Linked DNA regions of Homo sapiens: regions 1, 2 and 4 are each linked to region 3. The links are contacts of gene promoters, found by promoter capture Hi-C in blood cells and fetal thymus (Javierre and others, 2016). All regions are on one chromosome and are shown on one strand. Each heading gives the region's core, a stretch centred on a gene start or on the middle of the fragment in contact. The rest is flanking DNA. Distances are from core to core; before and after follow the strand shown. Region 1 has its middle 110 kb from the start of SPOPL-DT. Region 2 has its middle 140 kb from the start of SPOPL-DT. Region 3 holds the start of NXPH2 (neurexophilin 2). Region 4 has its middle 160 kb from the start of SPOPL-DT.

The links. The method cuts DNA at HindIII sites, captures the fragments that hold promoters and counts their contacts. A CHiCAGO score of 5 or more calls a contact.
Region 1: a fragment that was not itself captured here is called in contact with the fragment with the promoter of NXPH2 in region 3 in 1 of 17 cell types (M2 macrophages); the score reaches 5.0 in M2 macrophages.
Region 2: a fragment that was not itself captured here is called in contact with the fragment with the promoter of NXPH2 in region 3 in 3 of 17 cell types (M2 macrophages, megakaryocytes and monocytes); the score reaches 5.9 in M2 macrophages.
Region 4: a fragment that was not itself captured here is called in contact with the fragment with the promoter of NXPH2 in region 3 in 1 of 17 cell types (total CD4 T cells); the score reaches 5.2 in total CD4 T cells.

What each region holds. Positions count from the first base shown.
Region 1 is chr2:138,385,204-138,391,418 of GRCh38, forward strand. No RefSeq gene overlaps it. Among named protein-coding and RNA genes, the nearest start is that of SPOPL-DT, 110 kb to the right of the region's middle. The HindIII fragment of the contact is 729 bases long and covers 1,575-2,303 here.
Region 2 is chr2:138,362,752-138,368,994 of GRCh38, forward strand. No RefSeq gene overlaps it. Among named protein-coding and RNA genes, the nearest start is that of SPOPL-DT, 140 kb to the right of the region's middle. RefSeq lists a silencer at 3,708-4,002. The HindIII fragment of the contact is 3,938 bases long and covers 2,844-6,243 here.
Region 3 is chr2:138,777,534-138,783,671 of GRCh38, forward strand. NXPH2 (neurexophilin 2) reads right to left here and starts at 2,857. Exons shown (of 2, transcript NM_007226.3): 1 at 2,658-2,857. The coding sequence starts at 2,708. The HindIII fragment of the contact is 12,898 bases long and covers 805-6,138 here.
Region 4 is chr2:138,335,759-138,341,400 of GRCh38, forward strand. No RefSeq gene overlaps it. Among named protein-coding and RNA genes, the nearest start is that of SPOPL-DT, 160 kb to the right of the region's middle. The HindIII fragment of the contact is 700 bases long and covers 920-1,619 here.

The DNA of each region.
Region 1 (6,215 bases), core at 689-3,188, 390 kb before region 3:
ACTGGTTATTAAGCAGTCAGTGCCTAGTTTGCTAGTTAATGAGGTGAGAAGAAACCAAGAGTGGTTAATAATCCCACAAACTGATCATAATCAAATCATTACAATGTTAATTATGGAAGTAAGAGGATTGTACCATGAAAATAAGAATAAATATAAAAATCACTGCTTTTGTCCTATATGTGTTATAATAAAGCATATTTTTCTAAGGCTAGATGGGGCTCAAAAAGATGACACTTTCTTCTGCAGAGTTGTATTTAAAAAAAAAATCAGGTTGAGTGAGTTTATTGATAGCACCTAAAATATTTCCTTATTTTCCCACCTAAGAAATACGTTTTTGAACAATTTTTGAGATATTTTGTTTCCTAGACATCATATATATTCACAGGGCAAGTCATTAGTAACACAAATTATCCTCCAATCGTGTTGGAAATTTAATTTTCTTTATTGGATTTGTAAGTTGGTTCTTATTCTCTGACTTATATTTTCAAGAGATAAATGAAATGTTTTCGTTCTATAATGTTGATAGAAATACTCTTGTTTGTTCATATGGCCCCTATGGATTTGTCTAATTACACATTTTAATAATAAACTAATCTCAGAACAATTGCCTCATCTGTCAATCTTCAGAGCATTTTTCTTTTGGTGAGCAGACTATGTTACTAAGACTTAACTAAATAAAGATAATATATTTCCACTATGCTCTGAGAAGATAAAAAGCTCCACAAATTTTTAAGTTCAAATTTACTTTTATCTGAACGTAAGTCAATTCATTCTTGTTAGAAAAATGTAAAAAGCCCCAAAAAGTATAGAGACCAAAAAGGATGATTATCATAGTCCCACAAATCAGAGGCAGCTACTATTAATCTATATTTCTTCTCATTCTTTGTATTCACTTCCTTTAAATGGTTAAAATTATAGAAATATTCTAATTTGTTTTCACTATTTTTATTTAAAATGATTTAAGAGTAAGCATTTTCCATACCATCTCTGGCTGCATGGTATTATATGAAAAGCATCAACTATAGTTTATTTCACTATTACATTATTAACAGACTTTAAAAGTATTTCTAAATTTTCACTTTTTTTTTTTCTTTTTTTTGAGACAGGGTTTCGCTCTTGTCACCCAGGTTGGAGTGCAATGGCGCCATCTCGGTGAACTGCAACTTCCACCTTCTGGGTTTAAGCGATTCTCCTGCCTCAGCCTCCTGAGTAGCTGAGATTACAGGCATGCACGACCACACCCAGCTAATTTTTGTATTTTAGTACAGATGGGGTTTCATCATGTTGGCCAGGCTGGTCTTGAACTCCTGATCTCGGGTGATTCACCTGCCTCGACCTCCCAATGTGCTGGGATTACAGGCGTGAACCACCGCACCTGGCCAATTTTCACTATTACATTATGAAAGATATCTTGGGTAAAATAAAATTGTAATAAAGAGCCCACGCAGAATCTGAAACAGACAGATTCAAATCCTCACTCAGCCATTTAGAAGTTTTGTTGAGAAGTGAAAGTAAGGTAAGTAAAATGTGCCATGTGCTAGACAAACAATGAATTAAGGCTATTGTTATAATGAAGCTTTTATAAATTTTATAATATTTTGCTATCATAGATGACCTGAGATTGGATTTCTAAGTTTATCAATATAAGCATTTTTAAGAGTTTTCCTACGTATTGCAAAATTGCCTTTCAAAATGCCATCTACTTTAAACTCTCACCAATATTACATGAGCTGTGCGTGAAGCCTGAGCCTTAGCAACATTGGGCTATTTTCATATTTTCTAATTCAATAGGTGAATATCTTATGTCACTTCGCCTTTTATCTTTTCAAGCTCTAAATAACATTGTATGCTTTTATAATAAATTATCTGTTCATGTCTTTTGCCCATTAACATTATGGAGTCATATCAATATATGTAACTGCTTTAAATGTTAAGATAATAATTTGGCATATATGTAGTTAATTAACTTTTAGTTTTTCTACCTTTAAGTTCTGTTCATAATACCCAAGATATTGAGAATTTTCATATTTTTCTATAGTTGAATCTATTATTATTTTCTTTTATGAATTCTTCCACCCTGATCCAGGAATTAGAAAATAATCACTTCTTATTTCCACCGGGTCTAATTAGGTTTGATATTCTACATTTACCTTTTTAATCCTAATATAATATTTTTTGGCTTATGCTGTTAAATAAAAATACAAATTGAATTTTTCCCCAAGTAGCTAAACAATTGCCCAAATAAGATTTACTGAATAATCTTTCTCTTTCTCATTGTTCCACATCTCCTTTATGATGCATAAAGCTTTAGCACATAATAAAGCTTAATTTTATAAGGCATCAAAATTTATCAAAGATATGATCCATTATACCTGATCAGCTTTTGGAAGCAGATCTCTGATTAAAGATCCTTGCTGCGACCCTCACCCAAATTATCTCACATACCTATTGGGTTCAAGTGGTTTTCAAGACAATAAAGGAAGATGTACAAAGAACACAGAATAACTTTAAAAGAATTCTACATTTTAATTTACGGTCTGATTTTTTTCTTTTACTTTGCCCACATCAAACTTGCATCATTAATGAAATGGAATGAGACAGAAATAGGTAACAGTTGCCTAGCATCTATAGTGTTCCAAGTCCCTTTAGCCCCTCAAACTTCATGATGTAAACATTCTTCTCCTAATTTTGCAATTATAGAAACCCATTTAGTAATCTTAACTAAACTGCCCAATACCACACAGTCAACAAGTAGCTAAAAATGGGATTTAAACCTGGATCACATTGACTAAAAAATTATGTTGGTTGAAAATGGCCTTTAGTTGGAAAGAAAAATACACACACAAACACACACTCAGACAGATACTCTTTTTTCCCATGGTGTATAATATTAATCTTCAGAAATCACTCCAAGGGGCTATTAAATATTTATCCAGTAGCATATACTGCAATTTAGAGTCTTTATACTTTTCAAGAGTAAGTATATATTTGAAGCTGGAAGGATAAAGAGGGAAAAAGCTCATGGTTGGGATGAGGGAATCTGCAACAGAGAGTGTGGAATGTCCCATGGAAGGTTACATGGAAGGTTAATCTGTTGGTTAAATCTCAACAGATGACCAGTGTCAATGAGGACTATGTTAAGACCAGATAGTATGAGTTATAACTTAAAGGATGCAAGAATAGTGTGAAACAGTGTACTAATGAGGAATATTCCCTCTTTACTAATGCTACCAGTGATCGTTGCTTAAGGCCTTCAGCAACACAACCCAAGACGAAGGAGTCCAACAATCCTGATTATGACAGTTTCCAACATGAAATGACTGACTAAATTAGACTGAATCTTTAAATTTTATTTTCTGAGTCATGAAGAATAGGGATAGAGGTTCAGAAATTTAAATAAGCTATAGAAAATCATGTCAAAAATTATAATAGACACACACAGAACTGAGCACCATGAAAACTAGATGAAAAGAGATGACTGTAAGGAAGGCATAGCCTGGCTACAGGTGTACTAGAAGTAAGAACAGGAAATCAGAAAATCAGTCTTCTCTCTGTATCTCACAGGGACTTCAGATCCTTTCTCTTGGCTTCTCCTTAGGTAGCTGCCTGCTGCTGTCTCTCCTGGCCTCATCCTAGAAAAGGATGAAGAGCTGCTCTGCTGCTGACTGCAAAGTTACAATGTCATTCAGAAGTCTCCAGCTCATAATACCAGTGGCCCCTGCCACTTCAAATCCCATTTCCTCATTCCCTGCTTGGCATTTCTGACTTACGCACTCCTACTGATTTCTTACTCATCTCATTCTTCCTCTCTGCCAGCACTTTTCCCTCTATTTTGTATGCTGATGGAAATGTCATTTATATTGTATTTGGTGGAGATGAAACTCATGAATTCGTTGTCAGAATGGGGTGTGTGTGCACACATGTAAATGTTATATATAAGACTGGACATATGGACTCTTGTTGTAATCCACATAATATAATGGATCCATCTTATTATATGAGGTGGGTGCAATTCTCAGCCCAAAACTTATGTTTTGCAAGAACCGTAACATATGTCTTTTTCTACGACTCAGCTTAATTTCTATTTCGAGTTCCCATGCTGCTGTAGTGGTAGAAACTCAATGTTAACCAGTTTGTTCCCACACCCCTCTCTTTCTCCAGGATTATGCCAAAGTTGTAGAGGCTTGTACAGTGCCAAAAAGTTTGAGTGAGGCTCTTCAAAATCTTCCATTTTTCTACTCCAGGTCCATACTAGATCCCTCCACACCAGTCCCTGCCCTGGGGCGTGAACTAAATAGATCACATCCATGAGGTTCCCTTCCCTGTGGCTCCCAGATAGATTCAGCCTTCTCTACCTGATTCTTTTCTTTCTAATTTCCAGAATCACACCCTCCTCTCCTCATTTCAGGCCTAGCAGTGGCAACAGCTCTGCTGCTACAAGCCCCAGGTTCCTCAACTCTACACTCTTGCCTACACCTTATAATCAGTCCCCTTTGTAAATAATTTCTCCTCAAATTATCCAACTATGAGGGCACCAGCTTTCCTGCTGTGACCTTGACTGATTCAATTCTAGATGTTCATTGTCCACATAGATTCCCAGATATCTTTTATTCTGTCTGGTACCTGGTTGTCAGACCTCAAGATTTACAACATCCCTTGTGTTTGTCTACCTCCCACTGCAGGCCTTGTCACTCCCCTGCTGCTTTGTCCATGCCAACTTTGGCTCAGAAATATCTGTTGGGTTGTCAAGGCTCTATCTGCCTGGACCTGTGTTACTCTCTCCCTCTCTGAATCCAAGGTTGTAAAATACAGTGAGCTCCCTGTCTCTAGGGAAGATCCATTCTGCACACTTCCCACCCCTGCCCTGTCTACTTTATGCAACCCATACTAGGGGACATGTTTGACTGGTGGGAGATGGGGAGAGGAAGGAGGTGCATAAAATACTGGGAGAGGAAATATATATGCCCTAACATATAGAAGTTGTTAATTTAGGTATTTAAACATTACCACCTTCTAACAAATCCATGAAACCCAACATTTACATAGCCACTAGAACCATCCAGCTTGTGGGTTCTGAGAATAAGAACTTAAACAGTTCTTTTGCCAAATGCCAGGCTTTTCATTCATATAGCAAATTATACTTTGAAAAGCACATTGCATATAAAAACTTACTGGATCATCAGACAACCCAAAGAGGGCTATAAAGTGTACTTCATTCTATAGCTCAGAAACTGAAGTTTAGAGAGGTTAAATGGTCTGCCAAACACTCACAGGCAGCTTTCCAGTAAATTATTTACTGTGAGTTATTACAACTGTAATCCTAATACTTGAAGTCAGACTGCCTCCCACCCTAAATTACGGCTCTCATGAGATGACTGCAAGTGCTCTGTAGCTGCACGATATTATTGTCATATGAGAATATTCATGAGAATATGTGTATAAACTTCTTCAAAGTCAAGCAATGCATCTGTGGGCTTAGGCCACCAGGTTGTGGCTGCCTCCAGGCTGTTTCCAGACTCCCCACTTCCCGCCCTCCCTCCACGCCATCTGCTGCTTTTCCACCCCTTTCACACTCCCTGTCAATTTCCTGAATCACAGGTCCATTCAGAAGACTGTACAAAGAAGGAAAGAGGTGAGGGAGGGACCCTGGAGCAGCAAGTGAACCGCACCGAAATACTATGAGGTACATAAAGGAGAGGACGCTACTGGGGGCACTGAATTCCCACAATGGAGCCAGGCTGAAGAAAATGAAGAGACAGCAAAAACAAAAGGAATTTCAATTTAATTCTGAGTCTAAGCACAGAAACTTGAGCCTGTGGACTGCAGTAGGGTGGGTGGGCTAGGTGGAAATAAGAAACCCTGGGTTATGGGCTCAGATCTATGGCTTGCTTATAAGGAACCTTGGGGAAATTAATTACTGGGCCTAGGTTTTCTTACCACTGAATGACTAGGTTATATTTGCAGTTTCTTCTAACTCTAATATGTGGTAAGATGTCTACCTGACACTGTAATTTTGTGTTTTTCATTGAAGCATAAAATTGCATCATATGGTTCAGCTGCCATTTGAACTTCAATGTCAAGTTTTGATGCTCTTGGGGAGCAGGTTTTTAAAAAATAGTAAGAATTTTAGCTGTAAAAGTATTATTTTGAAGTTAATCTTACTCCAATTTCAATATAAGAGGAAAAATATGACTTGACTTATTTCATTGTAATCA
Region 2 (6,243 bases), core at 3,563-6,062, 410 kb before region 3:
ATGTACTGATTCAAGTATTCCACTAGAAAATTATTTTAGTGGGACATTCTTGTGGCAGAACCTCTGAAACTCTGCCTACCTCATGCAGTGCTGTTCTGTGCCTAACTGCCAGCTCCTACCCAGCAGAAGAGCCGTGGGCTAATGGTAGAGTACGTTTTGGGCCCCTGTATTTTCCATCAATGTGTATGCATTTGAAATAACAGCAGGTCGTTGAGTACTAATTCCTAACATTATTACAGTGTTGTTCTGAAGAGGAATTAATGTGTAAATTGATTGACTTGAGGATCAGTGAAAAGTACATCACGCATTGTGGTAAATTATAAAAAATAATGCCCTGCTTCCTAATTGCTTTCAAAAATTTTTATGCAGTTGCTTATCTTTATTACATTTAGTCAAATTCTGTAATGTTAATGATTCACAAATAAAAAACATTAAATATTCCTGATGGCCTGTACACAAGGTTAATTTACACCCTGGAAGCCAGATGAGGTGTTAACTATATTCAGGTTGCACTTCAGTGGTTTGAAAGGTAATTGTTTTACATTCCCAGAGCTTAAAAGGGACTTCCAAAAATAGAGTAGGCTATCAAACACAAAGAGACAATAAAACATTTGAATTGTTGTTATCTTAACATTCCTTTCTATTCCGTGATTTATCTAGCACTGGTCAAAGTACTTTTTGCCAAATAAACAATAATGAAAGGTAATATTTTGGATAAAATTTTATCATCATTGATTAGACTTTCGTAGCAACAATTTTCTTGAGTCAACAACATTTAGAAAAAATAGAAAAAAATTTCTTTTCTATTTTGGAAAACCCTAGTTATAAATTTAAAGATCTGAACCAGATTCAGCAGTAATGCCCATTCTTCTATAGTCTGTCAGATCCTTTGGGTTCAGGACATGCTACCCCAAAATATGACCCCTTGACATTTGAGAAAACAGTAAAAGCAGGAAGGTCACTCTCATCTTCCCCTCATCCCTTCTCCCCTGAAGCAGGCTATGAAACTTAGCTGCTCTTCCCCTTGTGTAGGTCATAAAACCTTTATTCCAGAGGTACCCACCATATACCTGGAGAAAAAAAATACCATCACTGAAGACACAGAAAAACAAAGAAGAATCTGAACACATGAGCCTTGCCAAGTCCCCTCCAGTGTGTTACCATTGGATCATGCCCCCTTCTGCTGTTCATACTTCTGCATGACTATCCTCCTTCATCAAACTTACCATAAAATATACAGTTTTTTCTCTTTCTTTGTGTCTTCATTTCTGAAGGCTCCTGTGTCATGTAAAACTTCTATTAAATAAATTTATATGCTTTTCTTTTATTAATTTGTCTTTATTATAGGGGCCTCAGTCATGAACCTGTGATGGGTAAAGAAAAAAATTGCCTCTCCCCTACAGGAAAAACAAGCTGAAGGCAAGTAGTGATGATTTTTTTGAGTGGCTTATACAAAAAAGGGCATTCCTTAACTTGGACACTGGAGGACAAATTTAAGCCAACAAGTAAGTCCCTGAGCAGCATTTTGCTCCCCTCCCCTTTTTGCTAAGAATAACCTTGTTAAGAATATCAATAAGTGAGGCTGGACGTGGTGGCTTACACCTATAATCCCAGCAGTTTGGGAGTCTGAGGCCAGAGGATTGCTTTAGCCCAAGAGTTTGAGACCAGCCTGGGCAACATAGAAAGACCCCCTCTCCACAAAAAATACAAAAATTAGCTGCCTGCAGTAGCAAGTGCTTGTGGTCCCAGCTACTTTGGAGTCTGAGGCAAGAGGACCGCGTTGCAGTGAGCCATGACTGTACCACCGCACTACAGCCTAGGAGACAGAGTGAGACCCTGTCTCTAAAAAAAAAAAAAAAATTAATAAGTGAACATACCACATTAACATTCTGTGACACACACACATTATACTTCATTGCTGTATCATGACTGTTAGCTTGATTACTAGAGCAATTGTCTCATGAGTCAGTTATTATGATATCTACTAGCCAAGGTATTTCTACATAGTTTAATAGTTTTCAAGGCCAAAAAAATTTGAGTGTAGCAATAAAAATTATATTACAAAAGCAAAATAAAATAATTTGGCTGAAGAATAAACCCAGAATTATTTTGGCACTAAAATGTTTATAATTCCTTTCTCTTAAGAGAGGTTTTTCACTCACAAAACCTCAAATAACATGTGTTGTTATCTTTGTGCTTTTGAAATAATAAAAGTGGTAAAGGTCAGGTACACATAGTCTTTGCTTGCCTTTCACAAACAGTTATTTTAAAATGTATGTGTGTGAAGGGGAGTGGTGTTATGTGCTTAATTTATTTTCTGTAGTTACCTTGATTAATAAAAGTCAAATATATTCAAATAAGTCTTTCATACTTCAATATTAATTTGTTTTAAAAAATAATAATTAACTTTTTAATAGAGCTGCTTGAACACAATCTAAGAGACACTTTGGAAAACTATCTCAAAAGTCTGTTTTTCTAACCAGGGAACTAATCCTGAAAAAAATTCACAGCCCAATCAGCATCACTCGTGACTTTATAAAATCTTCTATGTTTTCAGGAATGCAACAGCTTGAGTTAGATGAAAATTAAAATTCTGAGGTTAAATTCAGTGTATTTGAACACTGTGTAAATTCAGTGAGCTCAGGCACACACTTGTTTACTTGAGAACTTTTCAATAAAGTCCTTACAATATGCTTATGGCTCCAAATAAGCTGTGAAAATCACAAATTCTAAAACTATGAACATCTTTTTGTGAAGTGGTACACTGAAATTAACACTACACTTTTTGAATAAAAGGCCAAGGTAGAGATGTCTCCAATTTTTGGCTAAGGAAATGCAGCTGAAGCTTTGTCTATCGTGTTGTTGGGTAGCAATTTCTTAAGGTAGCAAAAGAGTAACTTCCAGTCAAAGACAGAAAAAGTCATTCTATGTTGAGCATGCTGGGAAAAGTCTTCAACTTCATTCTTCCCTTTGACTTAAGAAACACTTGGCATGTTTCCTAATATTGCCTATTAGACTTTCCCCTGCTCTCCCCGAGAACACAAACTACATATTATTTTCAAATAAAGTATATCCCACTTGAGCTGTTTCCAACCCCCATTAATCCCTTAGAGAGCAGATATGAAAGTGAAAGACCTTTGTTATTTAATGATGATCATAATAATGACTAGCATGCATTACACGCTTACTATATGTCAAGCACAGCAGTAGCTCTTTGCCTATATTATTTCATTTAATCCTCACACAATGTAAGAAGTTGATTCCATATTTCATCATCTCTAGGAGGTCATCAGTGCATTATAATTTTTTTAAATACACAAATGAAAAAAGGGGGAAAATGCCATAAACTATTATGTAATCTTTTCTTGTCACTTCAAAGTTTTCTTCTACACGTGTTGAAAGAGTTCTTGTATCAAAGCAGTCTCTCCTTGCTTTGCAATTTTTCTCATCTATCTCAAGGGAGTTGCAATTTCTCCTGCCTTTGGTTCTATGGCTTGTTGTGATAAGCAATCCTTCTGCTGCGCCTCAGTAAAAAACATGTAACCCAATTTCAGCTACTTGTGGGTATGTTTCTTTCTTGGATGTCATAAAACACTTGTTTTTTTCTTTGCAAGACAATCTGGCATAATGATCATTTTTCTAATGATGAATATTTGCTTCGCGAATATCAAATCTAAACACCACTCCTCTGTTTTTGCATATACATTAACTTTTTGTCTTAAACCCAAGTATATTGTTGAATTTATCTGAAGCCAATTTAAATGGCAAACTAATTCAGCATGTGCAGTAATGCAAATGCTCATAACTCAGGTGAGATAACCCTGACCAGTGATGACCAAGTGCATGTGTGTGATCAGGCAAAGCCAACTACATTTCCACTATCACATGTGCAACAGTGACCATAAATCACCACTGACTGTATGAGATATGAAAATGTAAAATATTGTGTTCCTTGGAATCTGTGCAATCCGGTGTATTCAAAACATTATACAATTGTTAAGAAGCTGAGTCAGAAATGTTGTACAAGAAATCTGACACTCGATTGCACTCTCTAAATTGCTACATTTACACTAGTTTTAGGAAAATAAAGAAAATAGATCCATTCCCTTACCTTTAACAGTCCCTTATCTATAACTTTGCTATAAAGTTGGAACTCAATATAACTTCCACTTCAGGTCTGTGGATTTAACTTCAAACCTTTGCTGCTGCTGCTGCTTCTTGTGCTTTTATTAAATAATGACACCAGTCTTGGTACTCTGCATAAAGGGGTAATGGTTTCAGGCTGGAGAGTTTATGATCTAAATTAGACAGGATAAAACCAGGAAAAGAGATGACAAGAGATTGTGAGGAGCTGGTATTGGTTTCAATTTGTTTCATTTTCACAGTGTCAATTTTCTTAATGCTTCCTCAATTCACACTTCCCATCTCTTTTTCTCCCAATAATTTCTGAGATGCGTCAAGAAGTTAGTATGTTCCCTTTGTTACAAGTGAAGAAATCTGAGAAGTCTACCCATATTCACACAGCTAGTAAGAGGAAGAGATATATAGTTCTAGCCCTCAGATTATCCATGTATTCAGGACCATGTTCAAGAAAATTATAATCTTGTTATATTTAATAAATGGATGAATACAATGTATCTGATCACACAAAAAGTCTCCTGCGAGATAAGAATTTGACCACACACCAGATCCCAAACATTTACCTTGAATTTAGTGAAAATACAGCAAGATGGGATGGTTTGGAGCATGTGCTCTGGAGTCAGCCTGTCTTGGTCCATATGCTGGCTCTGCCACTAACCAGCTTCACAAGTTTGGTCAAGTTATTTAACATCTCTACACCTCTGTTTTATTATCTATAAACTGGAGATAATAATAGCAACACATAAGAGAAAATAAAAGGCTAAAATTATATCAATAAGATTGTGTATAGAGTTGAAAGAACGGTCTTTAAAATAGACAAATTCTGAGAAATATGTTATTAAGAAAAAAGAGGAAAATACAAAATAGAAACTTAGAAATGATGAGTAAAGAAATTTTGAGGAAAAGAGAAGGTGCTCTTTATTGTGATTTTAAACTTGAATTGACTACCAGTTCACCTTCACTTTTTATATAAGTTATTATTCACTTAAATATATCTCTAATCTTTCTAGTGGGCCCTCAAAGGGTTATCACTTCCCAGACACCTTCTTTTGCTCTCTGAGTAATTCTTCTGTTTAAATTTCCAGAAACATATTCACATATCATTTCCATAGTCCCAGTACTATTTGTTTATGTGCCTCAGCAAGTACATCTGATAAATGCACGTTTTCTTTCCTGAACCCGGCTGACTTCTTGGTATTTGTGAAAACACTCGAGAGACATACTGAGCAAATGAATGCCCTTTGAATTTCTAGTCTTTTAGTAATGGAGATAGTTACCACCCCTTTTCAGGACTTTTAAAAAGCATGCCCACATGAAAGTAGCTTATGGAAAAGTAATATCTCATTTGTGATGGTGTTAGAGTGCTCCAAAAGGGTAATGGTGAAGAATAATTGCACAGCCGAGGTGAAGTATGCTAATTCAGCAAGAAGTTTGTTTTTCCAATAGGAAAATCTAGGCTTATTACATATCACAATGTCATATAAGTACAGCTACTGCACAATACACTCTTCACAGTAATGCAAGGTGGAAGGGTAGTGAATAATCTCAAGCATTAGGAAATAATAATGCTTTCATTTGTGGCGGACCATGATAGCGCTAGCTTGTCGTTCATATTTCCTTTCTTTGAATAATAGAACCTCTTTTCTACTCCCCATGATTCAAGGGGCTTTCAGTCAAGTATCCCCTCCCACCAGCCACCATATACACAATCACAGGAGCAGCAAGAACATGACCCAAGATCAGAGGGCCCCTTCCTGCAGTCTGCAGTGGTTCAGGAATAGGCACAGGACCCAGGTCAGGCCAATCGGAGTCCTTGGGAAATTTCGACTCGAGCTAAAAGAAAGATTCTATTTTCTTTATGTTATGGTGTTAGAAGGATACAAGCTGAAGCTCTTTGTGGCCATATTAAGGTTTTGAGAGGAAAGCTATCTGGTGTAGAAGAGACTAAGGTACAAAGAGAAGCAAAGTCAAGCAAGCCTCAGAACATGTGACATTTCCAAAGACACCATTAACCTTCTCTACCTTGCACCCTTGGCATGCTTTTTCCCCTTGAATACCATATGAACAATACTCCCTGGAGTAGTCTTAGAAAAGAGGAAAAAA
Region 3 (6,138 bases), core at 1,607-4,106:
CATAAACAGGTAAAAAAATTCTAGTTATTGTGACTGTATTATATATACGTGTATATTATATATGTTATATATAACCATAGTTAGTGACTTATTTGGGCTCAATTCCCTGTGACTGCTTTCAGAAACAAACAGGTAATTTTCATATCACTAAATGTTCAATATGCCCAAATGAATCTATTATTCTTTTAAAATATTTAATATTTTTTATAAGTATGTTCTTCAGGCTGGCAGTGCAGATAGAAAAGTAAAATCCAATTTCGACAATAAGGTAACTTCACTCCTCCCTCACCAAAAAATTAAAAAAAAAAAAAAAAAAAAAAAGCCTTATGTCAGCAAAGGGCAGATTTTTTTAGTACATATGGTTCCTAGAAAAGTAAATGACTAGTTTCATATCTAGAAAATATTTTATCCCCTTGCTGTTAGGATTTAACAAAGAAGTTCAATATCAGCTGAAAAAGGTAGAACAAAACTATGAGCCATCCAAATGAGCAAATCATGATCTGTCCTTTTTGACACCTACTGGAGTAGGGCATATGCTGGGATTGGGGAATATTTCAATTTAGATATGCTCAGCCACTCTGTTTTCCTTTCACATTCTAACCCCCTTGTGTTATAAGGCTGGCAACAGCTCTAAGAATGTGGAGAATGTAAACAGCCTTTTATTGTCCGAAGGGATGGCAGCGTAAGGAATGTGTGCTTATCAACAGGGCTGCAGCTCCCTACCTCACTTACCATGATAAAGTGCTCCAGGAGAAAAACATTACAACCCAAGCACAATCCCAAAATGGATTAGAATTTGACATAAGCTTTTTTAAAAGCAAATCCATCAGTCCATGCTGTAATATTAGAATCTAGCTCTTAAGGAGAGCATATAATCCCTTCAAGATGTATTTCCTATTCCTTACTGACTATGGCGGTGTGGAAAAAAAAAATATCTAACATTTCCAATATAGTAGCTGGGAGAAGAACTTTTCCCCGACACGTGCCCAAATATATTTTCTCATCTTTAAGAGCCTATCACACTGCTTACGGAGCAGATACACAGTTCATATTTATTAAATGCAAAATTAATGAACTAAGATTCGTGAAGATATTCTGAAGACCCCACATAAACACCTGATTTCCCCAGGCTTTTCCTTACACACACCATACAAATGCTGCTTTGTTAGATCACCTTTTATTAGAATCCAGACTAAAAAATTTTAAAGCAAGGGATACTAAAGATTAATGTGGCATATATTTTGGATTCATAATGCCTAAGATGTAAAATGTATTTTAACATGGAGTATTGTAGATAGCCAGTATGTGATGGCTCATTCAAGGATATTTGGGCATATCATTGCATTTTCTTCTTGATGCCATTGAAGAGTTTCTGAGTTAACGCTGTGCAGGTGAAGCTAATCTCCACCGTAACAAGCATGGACCACGGGCATCTCAGAGGTCTCTCCACCTTTTAGAGTTCCTTCCACCCTCAGAACTTGCAAAGTGCCTCTGCCTTAACAATATCATACATATCATAAACTTTCAAAGTTACTTGATTTTCCCCCTAATAGGAAAAGAAAGAGACAAAGAGAACGAGAGAGAGAGCGAGCGAGAGAGAAGAGACTGTCATCTTCTAAGTGCTTGGGCAAAGTCTTAAGTATGAGGACCAAAGAAACTATGGCATCAGGAGAAAGCCCTCTTAATAGCACCCTAACAAGGCAAGAGCTAAGTGACCAGAAGAAATCCATCACAGATGCTGACCCAGCCAAAGCACTCCCCTTCTGTAATTTTACTTTAAAAGTTTCTTCTTGAAGATCTTACTTTGGTTTTCCCTCAACTATAATTAGCCATGCATATAGAACATAGGCGTATATCAGGAGGAGGAGAGCGTGGCGCCTCGCGGGAAGAGAGAAGAGAGTGACAACGCGAACCCCAAACCACATTTTAATACGTTTCTTATTCCTCAGCGCCTCCGAGCCACCCAGACCAGGCGGGCGGTCTCCCTGAAAAGACAGCTTCGAGATGCCCGAGAGGGGGCTCCTGCGCGGAGCTGGGCATGAAAGTTATATCTTGTGTCCCCAGCTGGCAGAAAGCCCCATCCCAGTCCCTAGCGCCAGACGGAAAACGAAGAGAAATCCAAGCTGTCCCCCAAATCCGTATTTTGCCTAAGTTTTCTCCCAGCAAGGCGCCACTACCTGGCTCTGAGAACGAGGATGCATGCACTATGCTGTGCTTTGGGAGAAGTGTCTGTGTGCATCTGGGCAAAACACCACGTGAAAAATAAACACCACCAAGCCTCTCAAACTGTGAACAGGAGGAAGGTCTTTCTGCCCCTTCTCATCCTATCAATTTACTTTCCTTCCTCTCCTTGACCGCTTATCAATAAACCGCTTCCTTCTCCCGGACCTACTTCCCGGCCACCTTCTGCCTACTTTACCCCAGCGCTCAAGTCCCAACCCGTGCTAAGCCCCTGAGTCGCCTGTAGATCCCGTCTATTCCGTTCTTCAATTCTTCCCTTTCGACCTCTAAGGCAACCCAAAACTCCTTGCCCTCCGCGCGCCCCCAACCCCACTTCCCAAGCAGGCCCAGGCTGGGCTCCAAGTCAGCCGCCTGCGCGGTTTTCCCGCCGAAACGCGTCCCCGGCGTGTGGGACGGCGCGCGGGCCGGGCACTCACCAGCTGCAGCAAGCCAGGGACCACCACGAGGGGCAGCGGCCGCAGGCGCATGGTGCCGGCTGGCGCGGCTTTTCACGAGCTGCGCGCCCTCGCCTGCCTCTCGCGCATCTCCACTTCGCGGGGCAGGACTGAGGACGCCAGGGACACAGCGCGGCGCTTCCCTCCCGGAATCCGAGCGCTGCGCCGTGCCGCGCAGCTCTGGCCGGGTGGGCGGGCAGGGAAGGGGGAGGGTGGGCGGACCGGAGGTGCCTCTCCCGGCCCCCCGCGCGCCCCTCCTCGGAGGGGGCCGGCAAAGAGCCTGCGGGGCAGCTCGAGCTCCGGCACGCGGCGGGGGGCTTCAGTCGCGCCTTGGACTCTCCCGCTTGGCCGGGCTTGGGGTGAGCGCGTGGGGCGCCTGCGGGAGGGAGGCGGCGGCTCGGGCGCTTGGGTGATGGGTTCAGTGCGAGGCTGCCCTCCAGATCCGATCCCGCCGGGCGGATGCCTGGCCGAGCTGAGCACGCCTGGCCAGCCGGTGCCCCAGAGCCCCGAGAGGCCGGGTGCCTCCTCCCACCCCCGCCCAGCAGAAGGCCGGTCCGAGAGGCTCCACTGTGCCAAGCGCCCTGCCAACTGACTGGCTCTCGCTTTGGCTGGGGAGATTGGGGATGAGGGGAAGAAAAGGTTCTCCCTGGGTGGCTGCAAGAAAGAGTGCGCCCGCCTGGAGAGCGCCCAGAGAGTTTAGGAGGGGAAGGCGATTGCAGAGTCCTGGGGCGGGGCGTGGGGAGCTGCGAACGGAAAAGGCTGGGGCGGGGAGGTGAGGCTGGAGCCCAGGACGCCCTGGGAGAGTGCCCTACTCTGCCGCAGCGCCAAGCTCGCAGAGCCGCGGGTAAGGGGTACAAAGTGCGCCTGGTGCGGCTGGAAGGATTTCTGGGGTTGGGGAGTAATGGGGACCTCGAGGGACCAGGAGCAGAACTGTGAGAAACGGAGCTAGGTGATGTCTGGTTTACTCCGGTTTGGGGATGGTATAGACAGCTAGGTGTCCTGAAGACAGACAAAGTTGCTCCCAGACCTTCTGCCCGGGCTTTGGAGAAGCAGAATAAAGGCAGGATACCCCACCACAGCCTCCGACTTCAGAAATATTGGAGAGGGGTATCTTTGCGGACGGGCGAAGGTGCAAACCTGATGCCTGTGAGCCTCGACCTCCGTGTTAACAACTCGCCATTGGAGAGATCCTTAACCTTTTACTATCTTTGTGCTGGACACTCGAGTGGAAAAATCAAAGGCAATGGGGCTCACAGACCTGCACTGTTTTTACGGTAGATCAGAGTTTGGGCGTCATTCGTCACTCCTTTATTGAACAGGTGGGAAACCTAAGGTCCAGAGAGATACATTCACTTCTCCAAGGATGAGACTTTAGGCAGTTGCTCCGACAGAATACCCAAGGCGAGAATGCTTCTTACATCTAGAAACGCAAAGCTCTTAGAGAAGAAAACCATGTTGAAGCAAGGGAGTAGAATTGCAATTGATTTCTAGGCTTTAAAAAATAAACCCAACAAAAAGCACAGATTAAGTTGTAATTTTTGGACAAAAAAAAAAAAGTTTCCTTCTCCTCTGCTTACCACCCCCACCCCAAAATAGAAATGAAGGAGGGTTGTTAAATCTTAGCGGTTGAAGCAGAGCAGCCTTGGTCCTAGGTTTCAAAGGCAGGAGGATTGCTTTGACTAGGGCAAAATCCTACTATTCCTTTCACTGAGTGTGCCAAGATTGTGCAGATGGGGAGGGAGGTTATTCCAGAGTGTTCTGGGATCCCAGTGTGAATTTGAGAGTGTGTTGTCCTTGAGCCTGCAGGTAGGGTATCTTTCCAGTACAACTCCATTTCCTGTAGGGGGGGAGAGTGGCAAGCAAGGGGCATGCATCCTCCCTAAACCCTTGCTAAGCCTGACTGGGGGTTCCATGGTAAAGGATGCACCAGCTGCATCCCATTTCTGCTTGATCTCAGACTCTCCTTTTGCCTTGCAACAGACTCAAAAACAAAACCACTATTTGCATATCCAAATCTATATCTCACCCATTCCACTCCTCATCCCTACAAAAATTCCCTCTTTACCAAGGCTTAGAGCCCTGTTCTACCAGTTCTAGTAAATTATTCTGTCCCAAAAGCACAAATAAGAGGATTTCAAAAACTGGAAGGATCTCTATTGGTTGATTTTGCCCAACTTTGCGTCCCTGGATAGGGCTGCATCTTATTTACAGACAACCTTTTCGAAACAAAACGGACATAATAGGAAGGGTTTTGCAGAAACAGAGGAACCCCTTTCTGAAGAGGTACAGCTCGAAGAGGAGAGAGGCTAACCGCTTTGCAAGAGGCACTACCTCATTTAGACTTGGTGTCTCTGCCTGAGCTGAGCTGACTCATTTATAGAGCCAGAAGGTGAGGTCCTGTCTCCATTTGGTACTTTGGTAGTTTGCCATTCAGCTATCACAGGCTTTGTAAATGAGGAGGGCATGATTTAACACATTATTGAAATAAATAACAAAGTTGTTTAATTACTGGAATAGTTCACTTTTTTCCTTCAATTTGTTCATATTTCTTAGATCATTTTTGTTCTTTTGAGAAACTACATAAAGTTTAAAAGTGGAAGTTAAACTCAGACATGTGCCCTAGTAACACTAAGTATTCTTACAAAGAAACATGCTGAGGGATGTTGAATTCCAAGTTAAAAGCTAAAAAACAGTAGCGAACTTTCGTGCCCCAGTGATCAGGCCAGGTAAAAGAGAAGCCTAACAGCCCCACTAACCTAAGTCTGGCATTACTGTGTTTATTTATAAAATAACTACTGATCTTTCTGGATTCCTCCCAAATTTTGCTGTACAGACTACAGTAAAGAGAAAGAAAGAATGGAAAGAAGAAAGGGAGAGAGGGAGAAGAAAAGGATGAAGAGAGGCAGAAAAATAGAAGTATTTAAGACATTGTCCTCCAGCAGCATGCAGTCTGAGAAATATGCAGTAAACAAAACACAGTAGACAATACAGCAAAATATAAGTGTTGTTTAGTACAGCTGGAGAAAGGAAAGATCATTGTAGGCCAGCACGAATGCTTCTTGGAAGAGACGAAACGTGAGTTTGCTCAGTTTCCAAGAATGGCCAAGATTAGTCTACATGGGAAAAAATGGAGGAGATCATTCTGTATGGGAGAAACAGAATGAGCAAAGGCAGAGTGGAGGGTTTTTATAGGGCATAATTGAGGGATGAACAAAAAGCAGCCCAGACTGTGACTGGAGAAAATATGTTGAGGAAAAGTGAGAAGAAAGTTAGGTTATGGGCTGCGCTGTAGAGATCTGGGAATGCCAAGCTAAACAGTTTAGACGTAATCTGGAGGAAATCATGGAGTCATAAACCTTTTTTGGAGTAGACAAGTCATGCATGAAGAGGCATGAAGATATAGAGGTGGAATGAGGAGATGGTCATGGTAGTTGGAAAGAAAGGAATAGAGGAATAGGGAGAT
Region 4 (5,642 bases), core at 20-2,519, 440 kb before region 3:
AAAATTGGGAGGAACAAAACACTCTAACAAATGAACAAACCACAAAAAAATGTTTTCTATTCTAGGAATTCCAAGACCACTAAACCAACATTAATTCTTAATTATAGGTTCAAATATGAGAATTTATAAAACTAAAAGGAGACAAAATTTAAAGAAAACACAGTGGCTTTATGTGATACATCAAAACCTTTTTAAGTATGACTTTTAGTATGAGTTAAATGGATTTCTGTTTTAGAAAGTAAAAATGACACTCTGCCTGACCTCTCAGTCCATAATAGCATTCCTTGGCACCATCTATAATGATTTTGTCCCAACTCTACCTATAATACTATAAAGTGGAGGCAGCAGAACCTAGGTCTGAAACTAGGGAATAATTAGTTCTATCCATGAGTGGAGATTTTATGAGTTCAGTAAATGAGGAGTGTCTGGTTGAGTACTTAGGAGGAAAGGGGGAATTTGATGTAGTGAAGTCATAATATACTACATATCCGGAACCTTCTCAGGAATCTAAAGGTCATCTGCCTTTCAGTCCCCAAGAAATACAACCCTGCAGAAACCTCCCTGGCCATTTACAACCTGCCTGGCTCAGCTTTCCCTCAGGGCCTGAAGGATTGCCCCATCTGCCAACTCAGGCAGCCAGACTATCCTGAGGCCTTTTCTAAATCCTTGATATACGATCTCACCTGTCCTGCATGGAATATGAGGCTAAAATATTATCAGAGAATGTGCCCAGGCTGCAGCAGTCAGATTTAACCCCTGTTCTGGGAGGTGATATTTGGGAAGGTAATTAAGGACTGAATAATAGGCTTCCTCATATGACCATGAGAGTCACCTCTGAGAATTTAGAAACCTAAAGTCCAGTGTGATGAGACGCAATCAGGGACAGGAGAGAGTTTCAGACATTAAGGGGCTCTGACAAAGCTTTTCCAACAACCCCTTCCCTATCACCCAGAAAGAATTCATTGGGATGCCCAAATCTGATGTCAGCTATTCCCTGGGGACATCGGAATGCTCTCAAGATGCAATGAGGATGCATAGTGAGCAGCTAAAACACCCCTGAAGATCCTTATTTCTTTCTTATATTGGTGTTATCAATCTATTTATTCATTTATTCTCTTGGCACTGTCTTCCTTTTCTCTCCATCCTTCTCTTTCTATACAAATAGATTTGAACCACAAATGAACAAAATTGAAAAGTATTTTCCAGGTTAACAAAGTTCTCTCCCCGTAGAATTTTATACTTTGATGTGCTGCCCTCTGTCTGATGTTTAGTGTTTTCCATAATGATGAAGTCATCTTTCCAACTGCAAAGTCATTTGATAACCCAGCCAATTACCTTAAATTTTTAATTTTTAATTTTTTAATTTTTAAAGTTGTTTATTAGCCAATAATTGACTGATTAATAATTTCCACCTTGTTCTACAATTGATTTAATGTGCTTTATAAGGACATGTATATTTTAAGATATAAATTAAATATATGTAAGAAAAAAGAAAGCAAAACAAGAATAAGATATAAAATTGAGCAAGAATTGAAGTGAATACACACACACACACACATAAATAAACATTGAGATCAAAATAATCACATTCCAGTAGGTAGCTTAGAAGTTTATATGTAAGCTTTAGAAAACATAAAATTGCAAACATGGTCAGTTGAACCATTAAAAAATGTATATGGTCCATTAGACAAATGCAACCCATCCTGACATAAAACCTGAAATAAAATCCCCTCATGTAATGTAATTAAAAATTTATCAATAACTAGCTTACAGAAAACACAATTGCAATATTTTAGGGACATTTTCTATAATATTCCTAGATATAAACCAATGTCATCGTGACGAAGTCCAATTCCACCAGAGAGATACAGCAGGTTCACAGTTACAGGAATTAGCTCTGTGCTGGAATAAATTATTAAAGTAACAGATTTCAGAGCACGTGGAGGTAAAAATGTACTGCTTAAGTATAGTTAAGCAAATAACAAATCTTTATTACAGAGTGCTTCTCTCAGCTAAGCTTTGACAGCTGTAAGGAGTAAATGGTTTACTATACGGTCTCTCAACTACTACTCTTGTGTTTTTAGTTAAAAACCAGCCTTCATGCCTTGATATTAAAGCTAGGGTTTTATAAGACAGCACTCTATCATAAAATTTTCACCTTACACAAATATGTATTCTGCCTCAGCTCAGAGATGAACCAAGAATAGGATGAAAGTTTTCCTTACACACTTATTTGGATCAACTTCAAGATTCAGATGAAATGATTGGCAAAATCCCAGGGTTCTACTGTCTGTAATTTTGCTCCAATAAGTTTGGCCTAGAAAAATGTCAACAAGGTTATAAGTAGATTCATGTATTCATTCAATGTCTGTTGAGCTCCTGCTACGTTTCAGGCCCTCTCCTAGATGTTAGAGAAAGAGCAGTAAGCTAGCAGTAAACAGACAAAAATTCAATCCTCCATGATCTTACCTTCCAGTGGATATCTGAGTTGGTTATTAAAAAATTCAATAAAACATTTTTTCAATACCTGGATTTGAGAAAGCCCATTTCTAAGTGTACTTTCCCAAAAATGATGTTTGAAAACCTAAAACTATTAATATATCTCATTTCTCAATGTATACCTCTTCTTAAATTCAATGTCTTTTTTTGCAATCACTTTGTAGGCCATTTTAAAAATCATCTTTATGTTATCTCACAGCTTTTATCATCAATTTTATAGACACTTCCAACATAAATACTTATTACAAATATAGAAAATGATTTTGTAACATTACATAAATGATGACATTATATATATTCCTGAGGGGGGAATATTTCACTATTTTCTTGACTATTGAAAATTTTAAGGAATTCTTGTTAGTTTTTCACAACCCATTCTCAGTCTAGTAAAAGGTAGTTATCAAATCTGATAATCTGGAAAAGGATATTTTATATTCTATTCTCCGTGTTTAGTCTTTGTAAATTAACGTTAATTTCTATGTTCTGTATTTCTGGTGTATATTAAGTGCTTATTAATCAAATACTAGTTTCTGTTTAGTGAGGAATTGACACTAATATGTCAAAAATGTGAAAAAGTAGATCACAATTTTATTACACTCAGATTTTTCGAAATATTTCTAATTTAAAGAATTATATTGTGTTATACAATGCAATAATATAGGGACAGTCCAGATTTATGAGTTAAATCACACTATTCCTTCATAGAGAGTTATAAATATTCCAGTTTGCCTACTATTTGGGTCAGGACTATGTCATAATCAATTATGTGACTCAAACATGTGGGAAATTATATATTTTTAATGAAATATTTCATATAAGTAGTCATGATTCGAAATACATTATTTTAATGAAATGTTCTTTAAGAAAAAGAGGGTTTTTTTTAGTCATGAATGTGAATAAAAATAGAAAGACATACTCACGGGATGCAAAACAATCCCCCAATCCACAAAATTCTGTAAATTTGATTATTTTTTATTTCCTATAATTATTTGCAATAGTAAATTTTTAGATATGTTTATTTCTAAACATGTAAATAGTTTAAAATAAGGTAAAATTTAGGAGATATTGAATGGATTTTAAAATGCTCAAGGGGGGTTTATTTTAGGCACAATGGTAATTAGGTGAATTTATAAGTAAGAAGTAAGAGAACTGGCCCTGTTCTAAGGCAGAATTTTTCCAAAAGCAAAAAATACAGAACAGACAAAAAGGAAGAATGATTCAATACAGCAATTAATAAATTGAACACATGTTATACATTTTAAAACAAGAAGTTCTTTAGCAAGTGAAATTAGAAGAAAAATATCAATAGCTAATATGTACCAATGTACTGAACTCCTGGTCTCTGCTCTAGTCATTTTATATGTAATCATTTACTCTTCCTAACAACCCTTCTGGGTCAGTACTTTTCTATCCCCATTTTGCAGGCAAGTAAACCGAGTCACAAAAACTCAGAAAAACTTGCTCAAGGTCACTCAACTAGTAAGTTGTGAAACTGGGGCTTTAACTCAGGTATTCTGGCTTCAGAACCCCTATGATATCCCTAATATTATAACAAGCATAAAAATAATATTTAAAATGAAAAACTGTGGGACCGGGCATGATGGCTTACACCTGTAATCCCAGCACTCTGGAAGGCCAAGGCAGGTGGATCGCTTGGTCAGAAGTTAGAGACCAGCCTGTGGAACATGGCCAAACCCCGTCTTTACAAAAAAAAAAAAAAAAAAAAAAAAGCTGAGCGTGGTGGTGCGTGCCTGTAGTCCCAGCTGTTCGGGACGCTGAGGCAGAAGGATTGATTGAGCCTGGGAGGTCGAGGCTGCAGTGAGTTCTGGTTGCACCACTGCACTCCAGGCTGGGCAACAGAGTGAGACCCTGCCCCCCACCCCTTAAAAAATAAAATAAAATGAAATGAAAAACTACAGATACATTAAGTAAATTAGTTAAGAGACAATAATATCTATTATATCATTTATCATTTGCAAATGAGAAAAGGAAGGAAGGAAGGATCAAGAGAAAAAAGGAAGGAAGGTAAGAAAAATATTTGAAATAGAGGAAAAATTATATGCTTGTCTACTTAGGAAAACATTTGGTGTGCAGGTAACCTCAGTAACTGACAATCATTTTAAAGTGTCTAATTATACCAGGGTGCATATGTATGTGTGCCTACAGATAGGCAAGAATATATCTTGTAGATGTAATATATTACATAAGCATTTATATATATTCTATATATAATACATTATACACACATATGTGTATATCATATGTGATACATGTAATTATATGTGTATATTCATATTATTTATGCATATATCCACACTCGTGTAATAAATGCTCAATAAATATTTGTTGAACAAACAAATGAATGCATATATACATATATACTTTTTGGAAGCTACACATGCACTATTCAAAATGGTTATCTTCAATAAGGCGAGCAGGGTTAGGAGGATGAGGGCTTTTACTTTTCACTTCATACCTTGTGGTATTGTTTGCATTTTCTACCAGTATTTACATATTGCTCCTTACTTTTTCATGTCAATTGTAATTATCCAGAAAACAGGATTGTGGGGCTTTTTTGCTCTATACTTATTAAAATATAAATAAATATAAAGAAACACAATATTTATTGACTACTTTTAAAATAATGATAGGAATCTAAGGGAAAACACACCATGCCTTGAAATTTACCTGAATTGATTCAGAGCAGTACAATAAATAGGTTACTCAAAATAATGGGGTTGTTTTCTTTTTGGTCAAAAGTCTCATCTCATGAATTTCCAATTCTCCAAATTTAAAATAAATGAATGTAAAAGCAGAGGTGAGACCACCACTACAGTTAGACGATAAATGCAAGGACCTATATCTCTCACTTTTAATCCTGTGTTATATTCCATTAAACTGCTTTCATTTATTCTGTAGATCTGTCCTGCCAGCCATATAGCCATAATTTAAATATTAAAACTGAAATCTTATTAGAAGTAATCTTACTTCCTAGTTTTCTTTTTGTCTTTCAGTAATTATTGTACCTGTGGGCAGGTGGTATAAAGGCTATGAAGTATATTAATAGATTTTTTAGTATCATGATTATCTGATACAAAACTGAAGTGTTACCCTTCTTAAATGTAATCAAGTAAAAATTATAG